2 separate regions of the Homo sapiens genome follow, and region 2 is linked to region 1. The links are contacts of gene promoters, found by promoter capture Hi-C in human tissues and cell types (Jung and others, 2019). All regions are on one chromosome and are shown on one strand. The core of a region is centred on a gene start or on the middle of the fragment in contact, and the rest is flanking DNA. Distances in the headings are between cores, read along the strand shown.

What was found. The method cuts DNA at HindIII sites, captures the fragments that hold promoters and counts their contacts. A contact is called where the count stands out against the background at its distance.
Region 2: a fragment that was not itself captured here is called in contact with the fragment with the promoter of CCDC68 in region 1 in 1 of the 25 tissues and cell types used here (hippocampus).

The regions. Positions count from the first base shown.
Region 1 is chr18:54,956,353-54,962,767 of GRCh38, reverse strand. It overlaps CCDC68 (coiled-coil domain containing 68), which reads left to right and starts at 3,307. Exons shown (of 12, transcript NM_025214.3): 1 at 3,307-3,432. The HindIII fragment of the contact is 9,753 bases long and covers 1-6,415 here.
Region 2 is chr18:54,622,501-54,628,696 of GRCh38, reverse strand. No RefSeq gene overlaps it. Among named protein-coding and RNA genes, the nearest start is that of DYNAP, 34 kb to the right of the region's middle. The HindIII fragment of the contact is 9,961 bases long and covers 1-6,196 here.

The DNA.
Region 1 (6,415 bases), core at 2,058-4,557:
CACTCTGGGTGGTTTGGGGATGCTTTAGTCCCCGGGACCTAATCTCTATCAGACCCAACCAAAGCCATTCCGAAAATTATGTAATAGCAATACTTTTTCTTAATGTGGATAATCTTAAAAGTGTAAAGATATACAGCTCTAGGAAAATTTTAAATGGTTTGTACATATGCTGTCATAAAAATAATAATCAAAGGCAGTAGCTGTAAGAGAAATCCATAAACATCAATCCCTGCCTCATCCCTAATCCCCCAATATCCAACCTCTGAGAAACACCACTGGAGTTTTAAATTAATAATAGTTTATAGATTCTCCTGAGCTTCCCTGTGGAGGTTGCTAATATATTGTAACTCCACACTCTCATGAATCCTGAGTTTACTCTGCTCCCCTCCACAAAAGTTTTATTAAAGTTACTGAGAAAATAGTCTATTTGCAGAACTATGAAATAAAACTATGATTTCATTCTAATTAGAATGACCACTTTCACTTAAAGTCTCTCCTCTCCCGCCCAGAAACGTACACAAGAATCTCAGCTTCATCTCTGACCTTGTCGCTTTCTTCTGGGATATTGTCTTAGTTCCAGGGGCTATAACAAAATAACATAGACTGGTATTAACTGGCTTCAACCACAGTTATTTATTTCTCACAGTTCTGGAGGTTGGGCAGTCCAAGATCAAGGCACCCAGAGATGTGGTGTCTGTGGAGGCCTGCTTCCTGGTTTGCAGATGGCTGCTTTCTTGCTGTGTTATCACATGACAGATATCTCTTCTCTCTCTCTCCCTCTCTTTATTTGAGACAGAGTCTCACTCTGTTACCCAGGCTGGAGGGCAGTGGTACACTGTCAGCTCACTACAGCCTCTACCTCCCAGGCTGAAGTGATCCTTTCGCCTCAGCCTCCTGAGTAGCTGGGACTACAGGAGTGCACCACCATGCTCAGCTAATTTTTGTATATTTTGTAGAGATGAGGTTTTGCCATATTGCCCAGGCTGGTTTCAAACTCCTGGGCTCAAGCGATTCACCTGCCTTGGCCTCCCAAAGAGATGGAACTATAGGCATGAGTCACTATTCCCAGCCTTTTGTCTCTTCTTAGAAGGGCACTAAAACCCACTCATGAGGGCTCTACCTTCATGACCTAATTACTTCCCGAAGACCCCACTTTCACCACCACGTTGGGGATTAGGATTTCATTATATAAACTTTTAGGGGGGAACACAAATCATTCAGTCCATAGCAGATATGGTGAGTCTTAGGTATGAAATGTTTTCCTTTAACTCTTACTTTTCTAACTTTGTTAAAAATAGTTGAAAGATAGAAAATGAGTTAGCTCTGCAGTTCTGGAGTACTCACTGGTACTTCACCGCATCCTGTGTTTACCCAGCTCAACCCAAGCTAATGGAGAAGTAGATTTCCTTCTCCAGGAAGGGTCAAGGCCAGGAAGAGAGGTGGACAGGTCTCAGAAAGCAGGCAGTGTCAAATGCTGAGCAAAAGCCAAGCTCAGAAGGAGGAAATGTGGTGTTTATGGAACCAACTTGCAAATGCAAACATGAGCAAACCAAAGCAATGTAACAAATGATCCTCAACAGCTGGGTTTCTTCAATGCTGAAACTTGTAATAAACATCCATGGCTATCTTTGGAACACGATTTGTCTGTAAACATACATACATCTATTTACTAGAACCACAAGGATTAGTTAACAAAAAAATTACCTAAGAACCATCAACTTTCACTTCTCCAATTGGGTCACAATCTACAAGTTAATCTGCTAGGAAAAAAAAAAAATAACATTCCTCTCTAACTGTGGTGGGAATCAGTAATCATAGGATTCCCAGGAAGATTCTGAAAAGCCCTTGGATATTGAAGGATTTGGGTTGCAGTTTTCTCAATCTGTTAGATGTTGAGGGGGGGCGGAGGAAATACACCTTTTTTTTTTCCCCACAATCCTAAAAGTTTATGAACTTTCAGAGAGACACAGGAGCCAACCTGAAAGAGTTCCCAGTGGTCAAAGCTGGAACCATTTGAGCAACAAAATTAATAATGTAGTATTGAATTCTAGCCCAAAGTATAAAATAAATATACATGGGTCCATACTGACATAACAAATACTGACATAAATGATTGAATAAACAAGAGAGATGGAACAAATCTTCCTTACAGAATCATTCTAAATAATAACATATAGATACTCCCTGCTCTGGGATGGAGTTTAATCTTGCCCTCATCTTGAGTGTCAGCTGAATTGAGTCATGCCATTCATGCCATTCAGAGTAGAGTGTATGGAAAGAGAAAAACAGCTTTGCAGTAGAGAAACCTGGCAGACACAACCTTAACTATGGGATCAAGGTCAAGTCACCAGTGATAAGTCACCTGGCCATCGTGCCATCGTCCCTGAGAGGATGCAGTGGGGAAGGCACTTCATCTCTGAGTCTTTCCTCCCCCCAGTCTCATCATGAGAAAAAAACAGTAGACAATACCCACATGAGTGGGTGTCGAGGTACCCCCACAAAACTATACCTTACCAGAATACTTCATCACAATACTTTACTAGAATTCTTTACAGCTGTCAAAGTCAAGAAAAGACAGAGAAACTGTCATGGATTAGAGGAGACAAAGGGCACAGGATGCTAAATGCAGTGTGGTATCCTGGCTGGGATCCTGAAAGGGAAAGGCGTTAGCCAAAAAGCTAGTGACAGCTACATCAAGTCTGGAGTAGTGTTAATAGTGGCAGATCAATGTTAATGTCTTTTAAAAAATATTTTTAGTAGAAATGAGGTCTCGCTATGTTGCCCAGGCTGGTCTCGAACTCCTGAGCTCAAGCGATCCTCCCGCCTGCCTTGGCCTCTCAAAATGCTGAGATTACCAAGGCGTGAGCCACCGCACCTGGCCCAATGTGAATTTCTTAGTTTTGACAAATGTGCCACAGTTATGGAAGCTGTAGGCATTAGGAGACACCGACTGAGGGGTATATAGACGACTCTCTCTACTATCTTTGCAACTTTTTTTAAGTTCCAAAAGAAAGTTTTTTAAAAAAACAACAAAATTGCACTTGTACTCCATAAATTTATACTAAAAACAATAAAATCAAAAATTATTTAAAAAACAAAAACAAAAGTTTATAAACTTAGGGTGCAAATAGAACCTTCTTGAAAAGCAGCGGCCGATCCCCTCCCCCCACCCGCCTGTACAGCACCCTAGCGAGGGGCGTGAGGGGCAGAGCCTGGCTCTCCAGCGCTGGGCGTACGCGTCCTGCCGCGACTCCTCCCCGGGGCCTCACCGGCGCCGGACTCTGCCCTGGGCGCGCCCCGCGGGGCGGAGCCAAGCCTGCGGGCGGTGGCGGCTGCACTCGCAGGGCCCTGGCAGCCGACCCTGGCCCCAAGGTCCGATCGCCCAGGGGAGGAGCAGCACCGGGACCCCGCGTCGGCTGGGCGCCCCACAAGGTAGGCGAGTCTGGCCACCTTCGGGCCCGGTCCCTGCGGCGCGCCCCCGCATCCCCTCCATGTGTGTGGGTGTCCAGGTGCCTTTCCAGCGGCTTCCCCAGTGGAGTTCCTGGCATCAAGGACATTTCCTGTAAAAGGGTCCTTGTTGAAGAGGTAATCCTCCCTGGAAACCTCGGTTCTGGGCTCGAATTTCCTGGGCGAGAAGTTTCTTCCCCATTGGGAAGAGCTGCTTTTCCGCAGAGAGGAACCCCTACTTAGTCCGGCGCACACCTGATTATTTATTTAGGTTGTTGTTATACAATCCGTTTGTCAGGGGTCCCCGCGATTTCTGCCTGCTAATTTCAGAGGCTATGGAGAAAAGTCCTGCGGTAAACGCCCTGACCTAGGAACTCCAGCGTGGTGGCTTTGACAGGTCACTGCGCTCGCATTTTTTAAAGAGCAGAGATGAATGAAGGTGGCTGTCTTCATTCATTTGTGCGGGCTTCTGCAGCCGCAGGTGTAGTAAAAAGAGCAGCCCATTGCTTGACCTTTTCCTTAATGTTGAGTAGCATCATGATATTTTAGATGTGGAAGTTACAGAGTGCTAGGCGGCTAGACAAAGGAACACTCTTATCTTACTGAAGGTTAGTACGGGACCGTGCAAGTGTAGTTTTTAGATTGGATGATAACATAGCTGTGAATTTTCAGCCTTTTTGGAAGTGAAGACAAAATTGAATATAAGGATCAGAACAAGCAACAAGCCCTGAACATAACTGAAGGTGTACCTGCTCCCCATTATATTCTGATTGTTTTATTTTAGGAATCAAAACCTCTTTTACTTTCTTGGTGTATATAGTTCGGATGAAGTGTCAGAATACAAAAAGGAATTATTCTGTGTTTGTGATAGGGAGGAGATAATCTGTTCTTTTGATTTTACCTAATGCCATTAAATATTCAGAGCTACTGAAGTCTGGTTTTCCTGATATGTGAGCTGGGCAGGAGTGTCAGGTACCCTGGCAGACACAATTGGTGCTGTTGTTATGCTTTTCCCCCGCTGCCCACTCTCTTCCCCACCCCACTCCCAATTTGAGAGGGAAGGCCCCTGACACAGAGGAATTTCTGCCCAAGGCAGGGAGTATCCCCGTGTGGTTCCTCAAATGTTTGCAGAAAGAATGAAAACAACTACACTTCTTGGGACCCAGGCCAACGTCATAAGGCCGACGTCATAAGAAGGTTCTTTCCTCTTGTTATTTACAAAATAAATTGATCCCTTGTCCTAACTAGAAAGAGACTTTTGAAATTAATACTGTTGCTATTTTGTGAATTACTGATAGGCATGTTATTTGTTAGCTTATTTGTTTACAGTATGCTCAACATTGAAGGTGAGTTGTAATCCAAATTTTGGCCAAAGCTAAAAAATGTAAGCTAGATTTAGACAAACCTGAAAAATGAGGTGTTTATTTGCTTGGAATAATGACTGAAAGGGGAAATAACTGAAGATTTTGATGGGAATGTAAAAGTCTTTTAAAATAGTAGTTTCTCATCTTTAGAACTGAGATATTTACATCAAAATTATATGGCTATTTATTGATTGAAAACATTTCATAATGGCAAAATTTTACCATGAATTTACTAACACGTTTAAATGAATGTCATTTACTAAGCACAAAAACAGCCATTTATATAGGTTTGGAAAATGAGAGAGAGAGAGAGAGAGAGAGAGAGAGAGTGTGTGTGTGTGTGTGTACATTGTTTTAGAAACTATTTGGTACATCTGTAAATTTGTGGGCCTATTCATGTATTCATTGAAACAATATTTATTGAGGACACTGTGTTCTGTGTGGGAGAACCAGATGGGAGGGGAAGTAGGGTCTGGGCCAAACACAGCCCTGTGTAAATCAGACACATTTCTATCCTCCTGGAATTTACTACATTGGAGTCCTCCAGGCCACCCCAAGTCAAGGCCATAGATTTACAGACCACATAAATGATCCATTCAATTTCGACAGTGACTAAAACTAGATTAGTTTCAAATCACATATTTCCTTTCACTGATTTAAAAAGTCAAGTCTAAAAATGATAGAGGAGCTTGCATGTTATTCTGCTCAGTGGTTTTCTCTTTTGTTTAGGTTGGGGAAGAACTTAGGAATCATGTGTTCCAGGCTTAATGTTATGAAATATTAACTTAAAATAGCTAAGTATCAATTTCATGCAAATTAAATAAAAACTAAACTTGTAGTATGGATGACAATAATCTAGAGACAAAAATTAATGAACAAAAAATTTAAAACTGAAAAACATCTATCCATTAAATTATATTTTTTCCTATAAATTAGAAAAATAAGACTACAGTTACATTCACCCCACCCCCAGAGGAAAACAGCATCTTTATTCAAGTTATTCTTACTTTTCCTTCTGTATTTTTTTTTAAAAAAGCTTTATTGGAGGTATAATTTACATACCATAAAATACATCCAAGTGTATAATTCAATGATTTTTGGTAAATTTACTGAATGGTGCAACCATTAGCACAATCCAATTTTAGATCACTTCATCATTCCCCAAATATCCCTGGGGCCTGTTTGCAATCACTCACCGTTCTTACCCCAGCCCCAGCAACCCCTAATCTATTTTGTCTGTTTAGATCTGCCTTTTCTGGACATTTCATACAGATGGAATCGTACAATATATAGTCTTTAGCATCTGGCTTTTTTCAGTTAGAATAGCTGTTGAGGTTTATTCAGGTTGTCACATGTAGCTGTAGTTGGTTCCTTTTTATTGCTTAACTAGGATTTATTCCATGCCATGGCTATGCCGCATTTTGTTCACCATTTGGTAGACCTTTCTGCAAATACTTTTGCATGGTAAAACAGATACATTGGTGCAGCTTCTATGGTAGCATAATGTGAGAATAACTGATATGAGCCAACCTCTTATTTGGTGCTTTGACTCTCTTCTATGATAATTTTAAATATGAATGCCAAGAGTTAAACATCCAGGTTCC
Region 2 (6,196 bases), core at 140-2,639, 330 kb after region 1:
GTGTGTTCAACTTTTTTAGATTCCGCATATAAGTGAGATCACGTGGCATTGGTCTTTCAGTGTCTGGTTTATTTCACTTAGCATACTGTCTTCCAGGTGAATCCACGTTGTCACAAATGACAGAATTTCCTTCTTTTTTAAGGTTGAATAATATTTCATTGTGTATATATACCACATTTGCGTTATCCATTTATCCATTAATGGGAATTTATGTGGTGTCCATATCTTGGCTATTGGGAATAATGTTGCAATAAGCACAGGAGTGCAGTTATCTCTTTGACATACTGATTTCAGTTCCTTTGGATATATACCCAGAACTGGGATGCTAATCATATGATAATTCTATTTTTAGTTTTTTGAGGAACCTCCCTGCTGCTTTCCAAAATGACTACACTCATTTACATTCCCATCAACAGTGTACAAGGGTTCTCTTTTCCCCACATCCTCACCAATATTTGTGATTTTTTTTTCTTGAGATAGTATCACTTTTTTGATAACAGCCAGTTTAACAGATGTGCAGTGACCTCTCATTCTGGTTTTAATTTGCATTTCCCTGGTGACTAGTGATGTTGAACATTTTTTCATATTCATGTTGGCCATTTGTATGTCTTTTGAGATATGTCTGTTCAGGACATTTCACCATTTTTTAACAGGTCTAATTTTTTCTTGTCATTGAGTTGTGTGTGTTGCTTGTTTATTTTAAAACATATTAGGCCTTTATGAGATGTATGATTGGCAAATATTTTCTCCCAGTGTCTTTTCACTTTGTTAATTGTTTTCTTTGCCATACAGAAACTTTTTAGTTTGATGCAATTCACATTTGTCTATTTTTGCATTTGTTGCCTGTACTTTTGGGGTCATATCTAAGAAATCATTGCCCAGACCATTGCTTTTCCCCTAGGTTTCCTTCTAGTAGTTTTATAGTTTCAGGTCTTGCTTTAAGTCTTTAATTTCTTTTGAGTTGATTCTTGTACATAGAGGGAGATAAAGATTCACTTTCATTTTTCTGCATGTGGATATCCAATTTTCCCAACACCATTTATTAAAGAGACCATTCTTTCTTCACTATGGGTTCTTGGCACTTTGTCAAAAATCAACTGACCATCAATGCATGGGTTGATTTCTGGACTTCCTATCCTGTTCTATTATTGGTCAATGTATCTGGTTTTATGCCAGTACCATGCTGTTTTGATTACTATAGCTTTGTAATATAAATTGAGATTAGGTGCTGTGATGTCTCCAGCTTTGTTCTTTTTGCTCCAGATTGCTTTGGCTATGTGAAGTCTTTTGTGATTTCTCACAAATTTCAGGATAGCTTTTCTATTTCTGTGAAGATTGATATTGGAATTTTGGTAGAGATTGCACTAAACCTGTAGAATGCTTTGGATAGTATGTACTTTTACAATATCAATTTTTCTAATCCATGAACATGGAGTATCTTTCCATTCCTGTGTGCCTTTGCTGTTTGATTAGGTTTAGTGCACTGAAACCTCCATTTTCAAGGCTTGATGGCATGGTAAGAAATAAAACAGAAATAAACTAGATGATATACCTGTGGTCTGGCAATCAGAACAATTGCTTTTAGATAACTAGAATTGATATTTGACTGATGTTTGTTCCCTCTCTCAACACACTCTCAATGACTTCTAATCCTGGAGTTTCAGCCCCTCACTTCACAGAAGGTGCTGAGAACACTTGACTTTGGAGCCTCTCAGCAGGGAACAGGCTGGCACCGTGAAGCCACATTCTTTGTATCAGGGATTGTGTACCCTGAGTTTATGTAAATCTTTTGCTTTGTTTCTTTGCTAATTCAGGAAGTATACCAATTCCTGTCAATCCTTGAACCTAAACCTGAACCTTAAACTTTATGGTCTGTTCTAAGCTCTGAAGACTTAAGCTGTTTTGTTCTGTTTTAAAGTTTGGTCTCAACCAGGTGCAGTGGCTCATGCCTGTAATCCCAGCACTTTGGGAGGCCAAGGTGGGTGGATCACAAGGTCAGGAGTTCAAGGCCAGCCTGGTCAAGATGGTGAAACCCCATCTCTACTAAAATTACAAAAAAATTAGCCAGGCATGGCGGCGGGCCCCTGTAATCCCAGCTACTTGGGAAGCTGAGGCAGAGAATTGCTTGAACCCGGGAGGCAAAAGTTGCAGTGAGCCAAAATTGCACCACTGTACTACAGCCTGGGTGACAGAGTAAGACCCTGTCTCAAAAAAAAAAAAAAAAAAAAAAAAAGTTTGGTGTCCGCTTTAACCATCAAAGACTGAAGCACTGCTCCTCAGAAAAGATGGCAAGAGAATAGGGTTTTTCCTTTTCCCAAGCTACTGCATGGGAAAGCTACTGCAAGTTGAAAGCAGTCAGTATTAGTCCAATTTTGCATTGCTATAAAGAAATATCTGCAACACGGTAATTTATAAAGAAAGAAGGTTTAGTTGGCTCACAGTTCTACAGGCTATACTGGAAGCATGATGCTGGCACATGCTCAGTTTCTTGGGAGGCCTCAGGAAGCTTACAATCATGGTGGAAGGTGAAGGCGGTGCAGGCAGGTCACATGGCCAGAGCAGAAGCAAGAGAGAAAGTAGGGAGGTGCTACACACTTTTAAACAACCAGATCTAAGAAGAAGTCACTCACTATCACTAGGATAGTACTGAGGGGGATGATGCTAAACCATTCATGAGAAATCTGCCTCCATGATCAAATCACCTCCCACCAGACCCCACCTCCAACATTGGGGATTACATTTTAATATGAAATTTAGGTGGGGACACATTCAAACTATATCAGCTGGAGACCACTAGAGCATAGCAGCCAGTCTTGATCTGGATTTGTGATGATATTTCTTGGGCTTAATTAGCTTTATCCATGAGGAAATAAAGAGAGAGATTATTGTTCAAGATCCTTAGAAAAACTGAAAATATTCTGTTTCTGGATTCTGTTGTAAATTATCTTTGAGGTGAAAAGTTTATCTGTAAGTCACAATTATGAAGCCAATTGTAAATCCCAGAGATGTCAACTATTCAAAGCAGTTGATAATAGTATAAGGAAATAAAACATGTTGCCCACAGAGCATGAATATTGGTACCATAATGGCACTTCTTAGCTCTGATGATCATATGGAAATCATAAGAACAGACGAATTTCTGATTCTCTCCTATTGCTATGTTGACTTGCTTATGAAATCCCTAATAGAGAAATGCAGAATTTTGAGAAAATTATCTGGAAGCTAAGTAGAGTAAAAAAAGTAATGATAAGCCAAATAATAGAAGTGAGAACACCCTGGAATAAATGAAGTTTTATTATACATTACACATATTTATTAAAGTATTAATGACTCTGGAATATCCATGCTTATGAATAGTTTACATATATTATTATATATGTTATATATGTAATTTTTTGCTCCTGTGAAAGCAATTTGGCTCTTCTACTAATCAGAAGAAATATTTATTTTTCAGAAACTGTGATGGGTACAAAAGCTCCTGAAAAAGTATTATTAGGTTCATATGATAGATGAGGAAACCAAGACTCAAAGAATTTAAGAAATTTTCTTCAGGTTAACCAATAGTTGCTGCAGAGCAGAAATTTCATTTCTACTCTAAATTGAAAAGCCCATGTCGAACTGGCAAATTGATTGATTTCACAAGGGAATCGAATAGACAAATCACTTAGTAGAAGATAGGCTGATATAAATAAGGTAAGAGGTAACATATGATCTCATTAGATTTCTTTTGTACCTCAGCTTTGAAATAATGTTCTATAACCACTATTTGAAAATTTAAAAGAAGTCGAGCATCTGTATATGAGGCCAAACTCATTATTCTACTTTAAATCTAGGAACTTCAGTTTCCATTACTCACTGACCCCAAATTATTGTCTGGCCTATTTTATCGCTTTTTCATTAATTTGTGAAACATTTGAATGCAAAATGTCTCATTGGTTATTTAGGTTTCAATCTAAAAGTAGAATTAATTAGATTAAAAAATCTCGATAAATATTGCCAAATTAATAAAGAAAATTGTACCAGTTTACACTGTTACTAACAATGTAATAAGACTACCCTACTCACTGTGTCCCCTTGCTTTTGCCATTTTGTCAGACTTTGCTAATTGAGTCAGGAAAAAAATGTAAGTGTGTGTGTGGTCACTTCCTTTGTTTTGTAACTCTGAGAGTGAACATAGTAACTATTTACATATTATTCATTTTGTATTTATAAAGTATTCATATTTATATATTCATATATGCTTATTCATATATATATTTTGCTTTATTTATATTTACGTTTCATGGTAGTTTAACTGTTGTGGTTCACTATTCTTTTCTTTAAAGAGCACTTTATATATTAAAATATCAGTGACTTTTTTTATCCCATGTTTGGCAAATGTTTTTCCAATAGTTTTTTTCCTGTTGTTTTTTAGATTTTTTTTTTTACTTACAGAAATGTTAAACACCATTGAGGTTAAAATAATTATTTCTGATTTTTATATTTTGATTTTCATTAATTAACTCATTAACACATTTGAGATCAATTTCTGGTTTTCCCCAAATATTTAATCAATTTTCCTGGAACATTTATTGCATTCTTTTTTTTTCTTCCTTGCCGATTTATAGTATATCTGAATTTTTCCATCATACAATATTTTGCTCATTTTCTTACAAATAATTTAACCTACTTATGAGCTAATTTTTCTATTTAATCAAGAGCCCAAGACAAGTAAAGGTTGTTGGACATTCTGGCTACCACTGCCTTTTATTTAATACTGCCTTTTTCTGAAAATGTTTCCTCATTTTAATTCTCGTCTGCATTTCTGCATTGTTATCCTGTGACTCTTAATTCTTTCTCTGCACATAGTACAGTCCCAGGTCAGCTCTGCCCTAGGACTGAGCATAAGCAATTGTAAATTATAAATATGATAATGCTAGTTCCTCAAAGATGGGGGCCAGGTCTATTATTTGAGATTAATTTCCTGAGTGGTTAGTATCCAACTGCACAATTTATAAGAACTCAATTAATACCAGGTGACTAACTGATAAGTTACTGGCTCAGGGTTACAAAGTTCTGTAAATATGTAGTTTATGATCATTACAAACAGTCTGTCTTTTGTTTGAGAATACATGTAACTAACAGACTTGGAGTACACAATTTAATTAGTACACGCATGTTCAGTATCACTTTTTAACTCTGAGAGTTCTGACCACCCAATAAAATGCTTTATTTATAATGAAGTTTTCAAACTTCCCATTTCTGCTATCTTCATAGGAGTCTTCAATCCTGTAATTTCTTGTATGGCTATATCTGCTTTGTGCTGATCAGCCGCAAGTGAAGGCTAAAGTCCCTGTGAAAATAGAACCTAGAACTTTTGTGACATTGCTCTGACAACTACAACTACATTTTAAAACCACCCACCCAAAGTAAATCAAATAGTCTATTTTCATATAGTGGCATGAGTTGGGGAATGTAAAAGGGTAATTACATTTCTTAAATTATTAGATTTTTCTAGGCATTCACCAAAAGAATATTTACCAGTAAAAAAAAAATAATGATAAGATGCTTACATGTCTATTGCCCATCATAATAAACAGAAATTACTAATACAACTGAAGCCCCAGAATACGCCTCCCAGATAATATTCCCTCCCCATAGACATAGCCAACACTTTAAATTATTTGTTTATTACTTCCCTGTTTTCCCTTATGAACATCCAAACTATTATACTTTACTGGAGCTTTAGGAAATTGGTCGACATATATTGTAGCTTATAAGCTTAACCAATAATAATTGGTTATATAACTGGTTAGATTCCATAACTGTGCAGCTTTGTAGACACAAATGGTAAAGATATCAAACAGTGTGTTTCTGGACTTGCCTTTATTTCATTGATGTGGTTTGGCTGTGTCCCCACCCAAATCTCATCTTGAATTGTATCTCCCACAATTCCCATGTGTTGTGTAAGGGAGCCAGTGGGAGAAAAGTGAATCATGGGGGCAGGTTTTTCCCATGCTGTTCTTGTGATAGTGAATAAGTCTCATGATATCTGATGGTTTTATAAAAGGCAGCTCCCCTGCACCTGCTCTCTTGCCTGCTGCCATGTAAGAGATGCCTTTGCTCTTCCTTCACTTTCTGTCATGATTATGAGGTCTCCCCAGCCATGTGGAACTGTCAGTCAATTAAATGTCTTTCCTTTATAAATTACCAAGTC